4 separate regions of the Homo sapiens genome follow, and regions 1, 2 and 3 are each linked to region 4. The links are contacts of gene promoters, found by promoter capture Hi-C in blood cells and fetal thymus (Javierre and others, 2016). All regions are on one chromosome and are shown on one strand. The core of a region is centred on a gene start or on the middle of the fragment in contact, and the rest is flanking DNA. Distances in the headings are between cores, read along the strand shown. Region 1 holds the start of FOLR2 (folate receptor beta). Region 2 overlaps FOLR1 (folate receptor alpha). Region 3 has its middle 16 kb from the start of PHOX2A. Region 4 holds the start of NUMA1-AS1 (NUMA1 antisense RNA 1).

Region 1 (3,160 bases), core at 648-3,147, 200 kb after region 4:
AATCAACAGGCAACATACAGAATGGGAGAAAATATTTGCAAATCATATACCTGATAAAGGGTGAATTCAGAATACATAAAAGAATACTACAACTCAACAAAAAGAAAACTCAATTTTAAAAATAGGCAAATGACTTGAATAGACATTTCTCCAAAGAAGATATACAAATGGCTAATAAGCATGGAAAAAGATGCTCATTATCACTAATTATTAGAGAAATGTACATCAAAGTCACAATGAGATATCGCCTCACACTCAACATGATGGCTACTATAAACCCAAAACTCCCAAAACAGGAAATAAGTGTTGATGAGGATGTGGAGAAATTGGAACCTTTGTGCACTGCTGATGGAAATGTAAAATGGTGTGGCCACTACAGAAAACAGTGTGGCAGTTCTTCAAAAATTAAATATAGACTTACCATATAATCCTGCAATTTCACTTCTGGATATATACCAAAAAGAATTGAAAGAAAGGTCTTAAAGACATATTTATATGCCCATTTTCATAGCAGTATTCTTCATGATAGCCAAAAGTGGAAGCAACCCAAAGGTCCATTGATAGATGAATAAATAAAGAAAATGTGGTACATACATACAATGAAATATTACCCAGCCTTAAAAAGGAATGAAATTCGGATACACCTTACAACATGGACAAATCTTGGGGACATTACGAAAAGCCAGTCACGAAAAGACAAATATTGCATGATTCCACTTGGACAAGGAACTTACAGTACAGTAGCCCAAATCACAGAGACGGAAAATAGAATGGTGGTTGGCGGGGGCTAGGGAAAGTGAAAGTGGGGAATCGTTTAATGGATATGGAGTCTCAGTTTTGCAGGATGAAAAGTTTCCAAGATTGATTGCAAACAGTATGACTATATTTGACACTGCTGAACTGTACCGTTAGAAATGGTTAAGATGGCACATTGTATGTCACGTGTGTTTTTACCACAATTTTTAAAAGGCCATCAAAAATTGCTTAATTATGTTTTCAGAAATGCCAGATGGTAATATATTGCTGTTTAACATATTTGAGACAATTTTAATTTTTCTGTGACCCTTGACTTCTATACCTCAACTTTTTTTTTTTTTTTTTTTTTTTTTTGAGATGAAGTCTCGCTCTGTCGCCCAGGCTGGAGTGTAGTGGTGCGATCTCAGCTCACTGCAACCTCTGCCTCTCGGGTTCAAACAATTCTTGTGCCTCAGCCTCCCAAGTAGCTGGGATTACAGTGCACGCACGGCACCACACCCCACTAATTTTTGTATTTTTAGTAGAGACAGGGTTTTACCATGTTGTCCAGGGTAGTCTCGAACTTCTGACCTCAGTGATCTGTCTGCCTCAGCCTCCCAAAGTGCTGGGATTACTGACGTGAGCCACCATGCCCAGCCTATACCTCAACTTCTACCTATGTCCACCTGGCTGCCCATAAATTAACCCAATAGCTGTCACTTAAGCCTACTCAGTATGTGCCAGGCTTTTCCCTATACAATTGTGAACAATTTTCTAGTGAGCAAACTGAAGCTCAGTAAGGTCCAGTGACTTTTCCCAAGGTTGTGCAAGAGATGGAGCTCTCATTGGGTCCCATTGGCCTGACCCTAAAGCCTGGGTTCTTTTCCACCAGACCTAATCTCCATCGAGCTGGCCTTATCCTAAGAACCACTTGGGGTATCTATAAAATCCAGATGCCCCCTGGTGATGAGCAATTCTCTAGATTTTGATGAAAGTTGAATGTGTGGATGCTGGAATGAGTAAATTAACAAGTAAGGAGATGAATGCAAGCAGGAATGACTAAATGGACAGACTCAGGGAGCCTTGAAGAGGGTGGGGTCTGGAAGGGAAGGAAGAGAGGAAGGAGAATAGCTAAGTAGGGAGATTTCACTCAGTGCTTACCAGAGCGCGTTGTCTACCCTGTACCGAAGACAGAGGCTGTGGGGACAGCCTAGGGGCCTGGATCTATTGCCTACTTAGAGAGAGGCCAACTCAGACACAGCCGTGTATGCTCCCAGCAGCAACGGAGGTTCAGGCAAGATGCCCGAAGGAGGGAAGGGTGACAAGGGCAGTGGGGAGACTTGGAGAGTTTGTGCAGAGGGGAGGAACACACCTTTCTTTCTGTATTGTATTGTATTGTATTGTATTTTTTGAGACAGAGTCTCGCTCTGTCACCCAGGCTGGAGTGCAGTGGCACGATCTTGGCTCACTGCAACCTCTGCCTCCTGGGTTCAAGTGATTCTCCTGCCTCAGCCTCCTGAGTAGCTGGGATTACAGGTGCCCACCACCTCGCCTGGCTAATTTTTGTATTTTTAGTAGAGACGGGGTTTCATCATGTTGGTCAGGCTGGTCTCGAACTCTTGACCTCAGGATCCACCCACCTCGGCCTCCCAAAGTGCTGGGATTACAGGCGTGAGCCACTGTGCCCGGCCACATCTTTCTTTAGAAAGATCATGCTGGCTCCTGTGGGGAAGGCAACTTGAAGGGGAAGAAATTGGAAGAGGGAAGACTTGACACTAAACATAGAGCCATGGTCAGTAAGTTTTTGGAGGGACCTTTACCAGAGAGGGAGAGGAAGCAGTATCCATTATCCACTCTTTAGTGACAGAGCCCAAAGGAACAGCTCTGTAATGGCTGGGGGTGGGGGCAAGGGCAGCAATGAACAGAGGAGGCGAGGGCTGCTCCTGTTGTTGAGTGCCTTCCAGGACACTAAGTGCTGGTCTGGCTGCTCCAACATGGGAAACTTTCATGTTGTCTCTCAGATCTAAGGGTCTCTCTGCATTTTTAAAAAAATTATTTTGAATTTTTTAAACTTCTATCGTTTTTCAGGTGGTTTTGGTTGCATAGATAAGTTCTTTAGTGGTGATTTCTGAATTTTAGTGCACCAGTCACCGGAGCAGTGTACACTGTACTCAGTATATAGTCTTTTATTCCTCACCCCCTCCTCACCTTGCCCCACCCCCAGTCTATATCATTCTCATCTGCATTTGTTTTTTGAGAGGTAGGGTGAGGTCTGCTGCATTAGCCCAGAGACAGCTGAGGAGGCTGGAAAGGAAAATGGCTTTCAGAGAATAGGGAAGGAAAAAGTCTGAGGAAGCAAAACTACTTAAAAAACACTGCTCTTTCCATTTCCGTATCATTTAACCAAACACCATCCTGTGGGTTC
Region 2 (3,080 bases), core at 324-2,823, 180 kb after region 4:
AAGGAAAAAGATTAGTTCCTAAGTTGTTTCTCAATAACTTATAATAAAATAACATCCACAATTGATTGGCTATACATTGTTTTTTTGTATCACAAATTCCACAAACAGATAATGGGTGAGGCAGCTAGTCAGGGACAAAACACTTCCCAAGTAGCTGGGATTACAGGTGTCCGCCACCACACTTGGCTAGTTTTTTGTTTGTTTATTTTTTGAGATGGAGTCTTGCTCTGTCGCCCAGGCTGGAGTGCAGTGGCATGATCTCGGCTCACTGCAAGCTCCACCTGCCGGGTTCACACCATTCTCCTGCCTCAGCCTCCCAAGTAGCTGGGACTACAGGTGCCAGCCACCACGCCCGGCTAATTTTTTGTATTTTTAGTAGAGACGGGGTTTCACCATGTTGGCCAGGATGGTCTTGATCTCTTAGCCTCGTGATCCACCCGCCTCGGCCTCCCAAAATGCTGGGATTACAGGCGTGAGCCACCGCACCCGGCCTAATTTTTATATTTTTAGTAGAGACGGGGTTTCACCATGTTGGCCAGGCTGGTCTCAAACTCTTGATCTCAGGTGATCCACCTGCCTTGGCCTCCCAAAGTGCTGGGATTACACAAGTAAGCCACTGCACCCAGCCTGGGGTTACAATTTAAATTGCTTTTTTACCTTCAAATCTTTGACACCTCAGTGAGGCTTAATCTGACCGCACTATTACACTACAAGTCCCCATCCGTCTCTGCTTAATTTTTGTCCAAAGCAAAAATCAGGTGATGTGTTCATTGTTGTAACCCCAGTTTCTACAAAAGTACCTGGGTGAGAGTAAGTAGGATCTCAATAAAGGTTGAATTAACAAATTTTGTAATGACTGCAACTCCAGCAGGAGCTCCCTTTTGGGCTCCCACTGTCTCTGACGGCCCTCTCCCCTAAAGAGGTCCCAATAGCAAGTATTTTCCTGGGTGACTTCCAGTGGGCTGGGGAATCAAGGACTAAGAGGGGAGACACTGCATGTGGAATATTCTGGCTGTGCTGGCTGTGCTGGCTGTGGACTGAGTCCTCTGTCTTCCCCCATCCAGTGTCGACCCTGGAGGAAGAATGCCTGCTGTTCTACCAACACCAGCCAGGAAGCCCATAAGGATGTTTCCTACCTATATAGATTCAACTGGAACCACTGTGGAGAGATGGCACCTGCCTGCAAACGGCATTTCATCCAGGACACCTGCCTCTACGAGTGCTCCCCCAACTTGGGGCCCTGGATCCAGCAGGTATGCATGGCTTCCTGCAGGTACAAGACCTAGCGGAGCAGCTGAGCTTTCCAGGCATCTCTGCAGGCTGCAACCCCAGCTCCAGTTCTATTCGGGGCTGAGTTGCTGGGATTCTTGAACCTGAGCCCTTCTTTTGTATCAAAATCACCCAGGTGGATCAGAGCTGGCGCAAAGAGCGGGTACTGAACGTGCCCCTGTGCAAAGAGGACTGTGAGCAATGGTGGGAAGATTGTCGCACCTCCTACACCTGCAAGAGCAACTGGCACAAGGGCTGGAACTGGACTTCAGGTGAGGGCTGGGGTGGGCAGGAATGGAGGGATTTGGAAGTGGAGGTGTGTGGGTGTGGAACAGGTATGTGACAATTTGGAGTTGTAGGGCTGGCAGACCTCAAGATAGTTCCGGGCCCAGTGGCTAAAGGTCTTCCCTCCTCTCTACAGGGTTTAACAAGTGCGCAGTGGGAGCTGCCTGCCAACCTTTCCATTTCTACTTCCCCACACCCACTGTTCTGTGCAATGAAATCTGGACTCACTCCTACAAGGTCAGCAACTACAGCCGAGGGAGTGGCCGCTGCATCCAGATGTGGTTCGACCCAGCCCAGGGCAACCCCAATGAGGAGGTGGCGAGGTTCTATGCTGCAGCCATGAGTGGGGCTGGGCCCTGGGCAGCCTGGCCTTTCCTGCTTAGCCTGGCCCTAATGCTGCTGTGGCTGCTCAGCTGACCTCCTTTTACCTTCTGATACCTGGAAATCCCTGCCCTGTTCAGCCCCACAGCTCCCAACTATTTGGTTCCTGCTCCATGGTCGGGCCTCTGACAGCCACTTTGAATAAACCAGACACCGCACATGTGTCTTGAGAATTATTTGGATATGAATGGGAACGTGACTGTTTTGTTTTCCAATTCCCATTGATTGAAACCAGTGAGACTGGGCCAATTCCTAGCTCTGACAGTTGCTATAAACTAGCCTGATACTTAACTATTTTTCTAACTTAGGAGACATTCGTAGCTCTCAATTTCATTTTTTACTATTGCTCCAATCTAGAGCCAAGCCCAGGAATTTTTCATTTGTTTGTTTTGAGACAGGGTCTCACCCAGGAATATTTTGTTTGTTTTGAGACAGGATCTCACTCTGTCACCAGGCTGGAGTGCAGTGGCATGACCTTGATTCACTGTAACATCTGCCTCCTGGGCTCAAGTGATCCTCCCACCTCAGCCTCTCAACTTGAGACTGCAACCATGTGCCACCACACCTGGCTAATTTTTTTTTTTTTTTTGAGATGGAGTTTCGCTCTTGTTGCCCAGGCTGGAGTGCAATGGCATGATCTTGGCCCACTGCAACCTCCTCCTCCCAAGTTCAAGTGATTCTCTTGCCTCAGCCTCCAGAGTAGCTGGGATTATAGGCATGCACCACCATGCCCGGCTGATTTTGTATTTTTAGTAGAGACAGGGTTTCTCCATGTTGGTCAGGCTGGTCTTGAACTCCCGACCTCAAGTGATCCGCCTGCCTTGGCCTCCCAAAGTGCTGGGATTACAGGCGTGAGCCACTGCGCCCAGCCCCACCTGGCTAATTGTTACATTTTTTTATAAAGAGGAGATCTTGGTATGTCGTCCAGGCTGATCTCAAACTCCTGGCCTGAAGCAAACCTTTCATCTCAGACTTCAAAAGTACTGGGATTACAACCGTGAGCCACCACACCCAGCGCAGTCTCAGCTCACTGCAACCTCTGCCTCCCACATTCAAGCAATTCTGCCTCAGCCTCCCGAGTACCTGGGACTATAGGTGTGGGCCACCATGCCTGGCTAATTTTTGTATTTTTATTAGAGATGGGG
Region 3 (3,033 bases), core at 95-2,594, 250 kb after region 4:
TTTTTTTTTTTTTTTTTTTTTTTTACAGAGTCTCACTCTGTCACCCAGGCTGGAGTGCAGTGGCATGATTCTGGCTCACTGCAACCTCCACCTCCCGGGTTCAAGCAATTGTCTTGCCTCGGCCTCCTGAGTAGCTGGGATTACAAGTGCCCACCACCATGCCCGGCTAATTTTTGTGTTTTTAGTAGAGACAGGGCTTCATCATGTTGGCCAGGCTGGTCTAGAAATCCTGACCTCAAGTGATCTGCCCACCTCGGCCTCCCAAAGTGCTGGGATTGCAGGTATGAGCCACAGTGCCCTGCCTCCCTTTGTATTCCTTATAGGGTCCCCCAGAAAGGCCTGTGGTCATTTTCCAGGATAGCTATTGTAGGTTTAATTGTGTCTCCTCCAAAAGATATGTTGAAGTTCTGGTCCCCAGTACCTGTGAAATAGGTGACCTTATTTTGAAATAGTTTATTTGCAATCAGGTTAAGGTGAGGTCATACTGGTTTAGCCCTAATCCAATGATGGTCTCCTTAGAAGAAGCTTTTTTTTCTTTTCTTTTCTTTCTTTTTCTAACCTTATAAAAAAGGAGAAATTTGGACACAGAGGGAACACCATGTGAAGATGGAGAATAAATTTCCGTGGTTTCAGGCTACCTTGTGTATAATATTTTGTTATGGCAGCCCTAGGAAACAGATCCAGTAACTGTGACCTTGGGAGTGTTGGACATTGGCTCTAATGCTAATCTTTGGAGTTGTAGTTGGCACAGTGATTAATGAATCACTCAGAGTGAATGAAGGCTTATGGAGTCAAGTGATAAATTGACTTTTGATTTTTTTTCTGAGACAGGGTCTTGCTATGTTGCCCAGGGTGGAGTGCAGTGGCATGATCATAACCCACTACAGCCTCGAACTCCTGTACTGAAGCCATCCCCTTGTCTCAGCCTCCTGATTAGCTGGAACTACAGGCGTGTGCCACCATGGCTAGCTACCTTTTTTTTTTCTTTTTAAATTTTTGTAAAGACAGGGATCTCACCATGTTGCCTAGGCTGGTCTCGAACTCTGGGCTCAAGTGATCCTCCTGCCTTGGCCTCCCAAAGTGCTAGGATTGCAGGTGTGAGCCACTGTGCCTGGCTGCAACTTTTGATTTCAGTCTACCTTACTATCATCCCAGTTCTTAAACCCATTTTCCCATCATTTCTTTAGTTCCCGAGTGTATAGTTAGACTAGATGCATTCAGCAAATGGCAGAATCCCCATGTTTCTCCAGTCCATGGAATATGTGGTTGAAAGGGTCGAGCAAAAGCACTAAACCTTCCTCCCTATTTAAATTATAAACAAAGAGCAATAATGCCTTGCTGGGGGAAATGCGAGATTAGTGCAACCATCAAAGATCTGAAAATTTAGAGGTGAAAATTCTTGTTACTTATCCATTTAATTTACCTGTTTGGCTCACAAAGAAGTCAGAAGGGCCTTTGAGAATGACGGTGGATGATTGAAAGTTTAAGACAGGTGATGACTCCAGTTGCATTGCTCTTGCAGATGTGGTTTCTCCACTAGAGCAAATCAACAGCGCCTCTCCCACCTGCGATGAAGTTATTAACTTGCAAATGTTTTTTCCCTATTTCAATAAGCAAAGAAGACCAGAGGTAATTTTGTTTATCCTGGCAGGGGCAGAAGTACATTTTCACTATTTTGCTTCAAGAACTATGTCAGCTCTCTGCCTCTGTGCCACAATTTAGTACACAGGGACTTTGATAATCTTAAAGTCCCATAACACGTTACACTGGCGAACTATGATTATGATAAAGTGCTGATAAATCCTAAATAGCAGAAAGTACTCGGTACCCTGAATGCCTTAATGAGTTGTTGTCGTCAGCGTTTTGGATTTAAGCCATTCTAGTAGGTACATAGTGATATCTCATTTATTGTTTTAATTTGCAATTCCCTGATGACATAATGTTGAGCATCTTTCATGTATTTATTTGCTGTCTGCACATATCCTTTGGTGAGGTGTCTGTTCCTATCTTTTGCTAATTTTTAAATCGGGTGATTGTTTCTTTATTGTCAAGTTTGAAAAGTTCTTGTATATTTTGGACACCAGTCCTTTATATGTGTTTTACAAAGATTTTATCCCAGTTCGTGGTTTGTCTTCATTCTCTCAAAAGCATCTTTTGCAGAATAGAAGCTTTTAATTTTAGTAAAGTCTAACATATGTTTCTTCTTTCATGAATTCTGCTTTTGGTGTTGTATTAAAAAAAATCACCGTCTTCATTTATATAGTAGTAAGTAAACTTTAAGAATAGTAAAATAAATAAATAAGTACATAGAAAATCGTCACCAAACCCAAGGTCATCTAGATTTTGTCTTATGTTATCTTCTAGGAGTTTTATAGTTTTGCATTCAATTTTTTTTTTTTTTTTTTGAGACGGAGTCTTGCTTTGTCTCCAGGCTGGGGTGCAGTGGCGTGATCTCAGCTCACTGCAACCTTTGCCTACCAGGTTCAAGCAATTCTGCCTCAGCCATCTGAGTAGCTGGGACTACAGTTGCACACCGCCACACCCAGCTAATTTTTGTATTTTGAGTAGAGATGGGGTTTCATCATATTGGCCAGGGTGGTCTTGATTTCCTGACTTCGTGATCCTCCTGCCTCGGCCTCCCAAAGTGCTGGGATTACAGGCATGAACCACTACGCCCAGCTAATTTTGTATTTTTAGTAGAGACGGGGTTTCTCCATGTTGGTCAGGCTGGTCTCGAACTCCCAACCTCAGGTGATCCGCCCGCCTCGGCCTCCCAAAGTGCTGGGATTACAGGTGTGAGCTACCACGCCCAGTGTCCCATTTTTTAAAATTGTTATTAAAAAAATTTTTTTAATTGTTATTTTAAAAAATTTTTAAATTGTTATTTAAAAAAATTAAAAAAAAATTTTTTTAAATTTTTAATAAAATAGAGATGGGGGTCTCACTATGTTGCCCAGGCTGGTATTAAACTCCTGGGCTCAAGTGATCCTACTGCCTCAGCCTCCCAAATTGTTAGGATTACAGGCGTGTGCC
Region 4 (3,370 bases), core at 199-2,698:
CCGCGCTCTCAGCTCCTGATCTTTGGGAGGGTGGTTGGGCTGAGTACCTTACCTGGGCAGTGAGTTTCTGCCTCTCTTCCTGGAACCGCTGCCTCTCCTCCAGGACCTTGACCTTGGCACCCTCATACTTGGCAGTCATCACCTCCAGCTCCCGGGCAGTGCTCTGTGCTTCTCGCTGCACCTCAGCCAGACGGGTCTCAGCATCAGCACGTACGGCTGCCAACTCTTGGACATACTTCTCCCGGGCCTGGTCCAACTCCACTTCCAGAAACTGCCGGCCAAGGTTGGCCCGCTCACCCAGCCCCCGGTTCTCCTCTGCCAGCAGGCCATGCGCCTTCTTCAGCATGCTCAGCTGCTCTGCATAGCTGGCCTTCTCTGCCCGCAGCTGCTGAGCTGTTCGCTCCTGCTCTGCCACCTTCTGCCGCAGAGGAATCAGCTCCCCAAGCTCCCGCTGGGCCCGCAGCAGCTCTGCCCGCAGTCCCCCAGCGGCCTGCTTGCTCTGCTCCAGCTCCTCACGGTGGCGTTTCTCGGCAGCGGCCTGCTCGGCCTGCAGCTGCTGGCAGAGGTGCTTAGCTGGCAGCAGCTCACTCACCAGGGCCTGTGTGCTGGTGTGCTCGAGCTGCAGGGTGGAGAGGGCCTGCTCTTTCTGGAAGAACTTCTCCTGCCACGCCTTCAATTCTTGGCCCAGCTCCTCCGCACGCTCAGCCTGTGAGGTCAGCTCCTGCCGCAGGTTCTCTGAAGCCACCCGCTGTTTCTCAGCCTCCTCCCGGAGGCTCTGCACCTCCTCCCGCAGAGCAGAGCTGCGTTCTGCAGCTCTGGCACTGTTGCTGGCTGTCTCTGCCTGCAGCAGGCGCAGCCTCTCCTCCAGCTTCTGGCTCTTCTCTGACTCGGCCATCACCAGCCGCTTCAACTCCTTGCTCTCCCCCTCCTTCTCCAGGACCTGGCGATTCAGGATGGACACCTCCTCCTCCAAGCTGCTGATGAGGCTATTTTTCCTCTCAGCCTCTTGCCGGCCCCGGGCCACCTGGGCCTTCCACTCATCTTCAGCCTTGCTGTGGTCTTGTACCTTGGTGCGGAAGGCAGCCAACTCCCGTTGGGCCGAGGCTAAGGCACTCTGACTGTGCCCTAGCTCCTGGGCCTTCTCCTCTAACTGGCCCTGCAGAGTCTCCAGAGCACTGTCCCGCTCAGCCCGGGAGGCCCGCTCAGCCTCGAGGCTGCGTTCCAGGCTGTCAGCCTGCTCCTGCTGCTTCTGGCATTGCTGTTCCAGCTTGCTCACCTCTGCCCGCAGTGCCTCCAGCTTGGGGCCTGTTGGCTCTGTCCTGCCAGCAGCCTCAGATTGGGCTCCTGAGCCAGATGCGTGCTCCTTTTCTTTCTTAGCCAGCTGTTCCTTCAGTTGCTTCACGGTTTGCCGAAGTTCCTCCAGCTCTTTTATCTGGGCTGCCTCCAGACCACGAAGCTTGGCCAACTCCTGGTCCTTGCCTTCCTTTTCCGTCAGGGCATGAGCCAGTGCCTCTTGCAGGGTAGCGAACTCCACACGCTGCTCGTTGAGGGCGTTCTGCAGCCGCATCTCAAGCTCTGCTCTGGCCGCCTTCTCCAGGGCAAGGTCAGCCTGGGCACGGCCCCGCTCCTGGGTCAGCCGCGCCACCTCCCTTTCCTGCTGCCCACGCTCCTCCTGCTGCTGCCCCTGGCTCTCCATCAGCGCGGCCCGCAGCCGTTCCAGCTCATTGCCCATCTGCTCTGCCTCCCGCTCCATAGCCTGCAGCGCTGCCTGTGTGCTGCAGAACTGGCGTCCCTGTTGCTCTTCCAGCCACTCGGGCTGTCTGTCTCCTGCCCTCGCAGGCTCCTTGACTAACTCCCGGGAGGCTGTTTCCTGCTGCTCACCTGCCTTGCGCACCAAGGTCTCCAAGCGGGCCACCTCTTTGCTGGTGGCAGCCATCTTTTCCTGCAGAGTGGAGAGGTCATCTGCAAGCTTCTGGGCCCTGACTTCCTTCTCTTGGACCTGCTGGAGTGCTCTGGCCAGGTTGGCATGGAGCTCAGCTAGTTCGTTCTGCTGCCGGCTTATCTGGAGCTCGCTGTGGGATTCTATGCCTGCCACCTTCTCCTTTGCCTCCTGCAGCTCCTGGCGGGCCTTCTCACATTCCTCCTTCAAAGTCATCAGCTGTTCCTGGAACATGGCGCCATACTGTGCCTCCTCTTGCTGGCTATCCTCATACCGCTCACGCCAGGCAGCTACTTCTTTGACGAGCTGCTCACACTCACTCTCAGCTGTGTGCTGGGCAGCCATGGCCTCTGCCAGCTCCCGCCGCAGGACTTCAGTCTCAGCCTGATGGGCCTCCCCAAGCTGCTGTAATCGAGCCTCCAGCCCCTTGCGCCCAGCCCTCTCTTCTTCCAGCTCCTTTCGTTCCCGCTTATGCTGCTCCACCAGGCTTCGGGTCTCTGCCTTCAGCTCAGAGATACAACGCTGCTGCTCTTCCAGGGCATCTGCAGCCCTGCGCTTCTCCTCTTCAAGGCTGCCCTTGGTGACCTTCAAGGACTCTTTGAGGGCCTGGAGCTGCTCCTGGAGCTGGTCCTTCTCCTGGGCCACCCTTTCTTTCTCAGTTGCTTTTTGCTGCTCAGACCGCAGCTGCAACTCTAGCTCTGCAACCTGGGCCTGGGCCTCATGCTGTTCCTGGCGGGCTGTCTCAACACAGGCCTGGAGTTCCTCCACCTTCCGGCTCAGCTCTGCCTTCTCCCGCTGGGCCTGTGTCACTGAGGTCTGGGCACTGTCCCGGGCTTCATTAGCCACCTGAAGTTGCTGCTGCAGAATCTCCAGCTTGGCAGCCTTCTCCTTCTCCAGTGCCTCCAGCTGCTTGAGAGCCGCATCCCGCTCCCTTAAGGAGGCCTCTCGCTCCTCTGCAGCAGTGGCCAGTTGCTGGGCATGGTCCTGCCTAGTTGCCTCCTGCTTCTCCGCTACCTCCTTCAACTGCTGCTCCTTCTGCTTCAGGCTACTGCTTAGCTGCTCCACCTGGTGGCGGAGGCCCTGGGAGGCCTGTTCTTGCTGTTGGAGGGTCTGTGCTAGCTGGGCCTGCTTCTCTTTGGCCTGCTGCTTCAGGCCAGCCAGTTCTTGATCCTGTTGCTGGATGGTGGCATTGAGTGTGGTGAGCTCAGAGGTCAGAGAGGCCACCTGGGCAGTCAACCGGGCCCCATGAGCCTGGGAGGCCTGCTCCAGCTCTTCCTTGGCCTGGCTGAGGTTGGAGATGGAGCTCTGCAGGTCAGTGATCAGGCTAGACAGCTGCTGCTTTTCTTCTTCGAAGTGGCCCCGCTCAGCAAGCAGCTTGGCTTCCTGCTGGCCTCGCTCAGTCTCCAGCATCTCTACCCTGGCTTGGAGCTG

The links. The method cuts DNA at HindIII sites, captures the fragments that hold promoters and counts their contacts. A CHiCAGO score of 5 or more calls a contact.
Region 1: a contact is called between the fragment with the promoter of FOLR2 here and the fragment with the promoter of NUMA1-AS1 in region 4, in 2 of 17 cell types (erythroblasts and neutrophils). The highest score is 6.3, in erythroblasts.
Region 2: a contact is called between a fragment that was not itself captured here and the fragment with the promoter of NUMA1-AS1 in region 4, in 2 of 17 cell types (erythroblasts and M1 macrophages). The highest score is 6.1, in erythroblasts.
Region 3: a contact is called between a fragment that was not itself captured here and the fragment with the promoter of NUMA1-AS1 in region 4, in 1 of 17 cell types (erythroblasts). The highest score is 5.6, in erythroblasts.

Annotation. Positions count from the first base shown.
Region 1 is chr11:72,214,897-72,218,056 of GRCh38, forward strand. It overlaps FOLR2 (folate receptor beta), which reads left to right and starts at 1,898. Exons shown (of 5, transcript NM_000803.5): 1 at 1,898-2,029. The HindIII fragment of the contact is 32,333 bases long and covers 1-3,160 here.
Region 2 is chr11:72,194,207-72,197,286 of GRCh38, forward strand. FOLR1 (folate receptor alpha) reads left to right here. Exons shown (of 4, transcript NM_016729.3): 2 at 1,065-1,253; 3 at 1,406-1,541; 4 at 1,691-2,093. The coding sequence ends at 1,971. All of the region lies in intron 2 of FOLR1-AS1 (FOLR1 antisense RNA 1), which reads right to left. Among named protein-coding and RNA genes, the nearest start is that of FOLR1, 3.6 kb to the left of the region's middle. The HindIII fragment of the contact is 3,293 bases long and covers 1-3,080 here.
Region 3 is chr11:72,258,981-72,262,013 of GRCh38, forward strand. No RefSeq gene overlaps it. Among named protein-coding and RNA genes, the nearest start is that of PHOX2A, 16 kb to the left of the region's middle. The HindIII fragment of the contact is 1,643 bases long and covers 524-2,166 here.
Region 4 is chr11:72,012,843-72,016,212 of GRCh38, forward strand. NUMA1-AS1 (NUMA1 antisense RNA 1) reads left to right here and starts at 1,449. Exons shown (of 4, transcript NR_104178.2): 1 at 1,449-3,370. It overlaps NUMA1 (nuclear mitotic apparatus protein 1), which reads right to left. Exons shown (of 27, transcript NM_006185.4): 15 at 53-3,370. RefSeq lists an enhancer at 2,103-2,850. The HindIII fragment of the contact is 6,447 bases long and covers 1-1,454 here.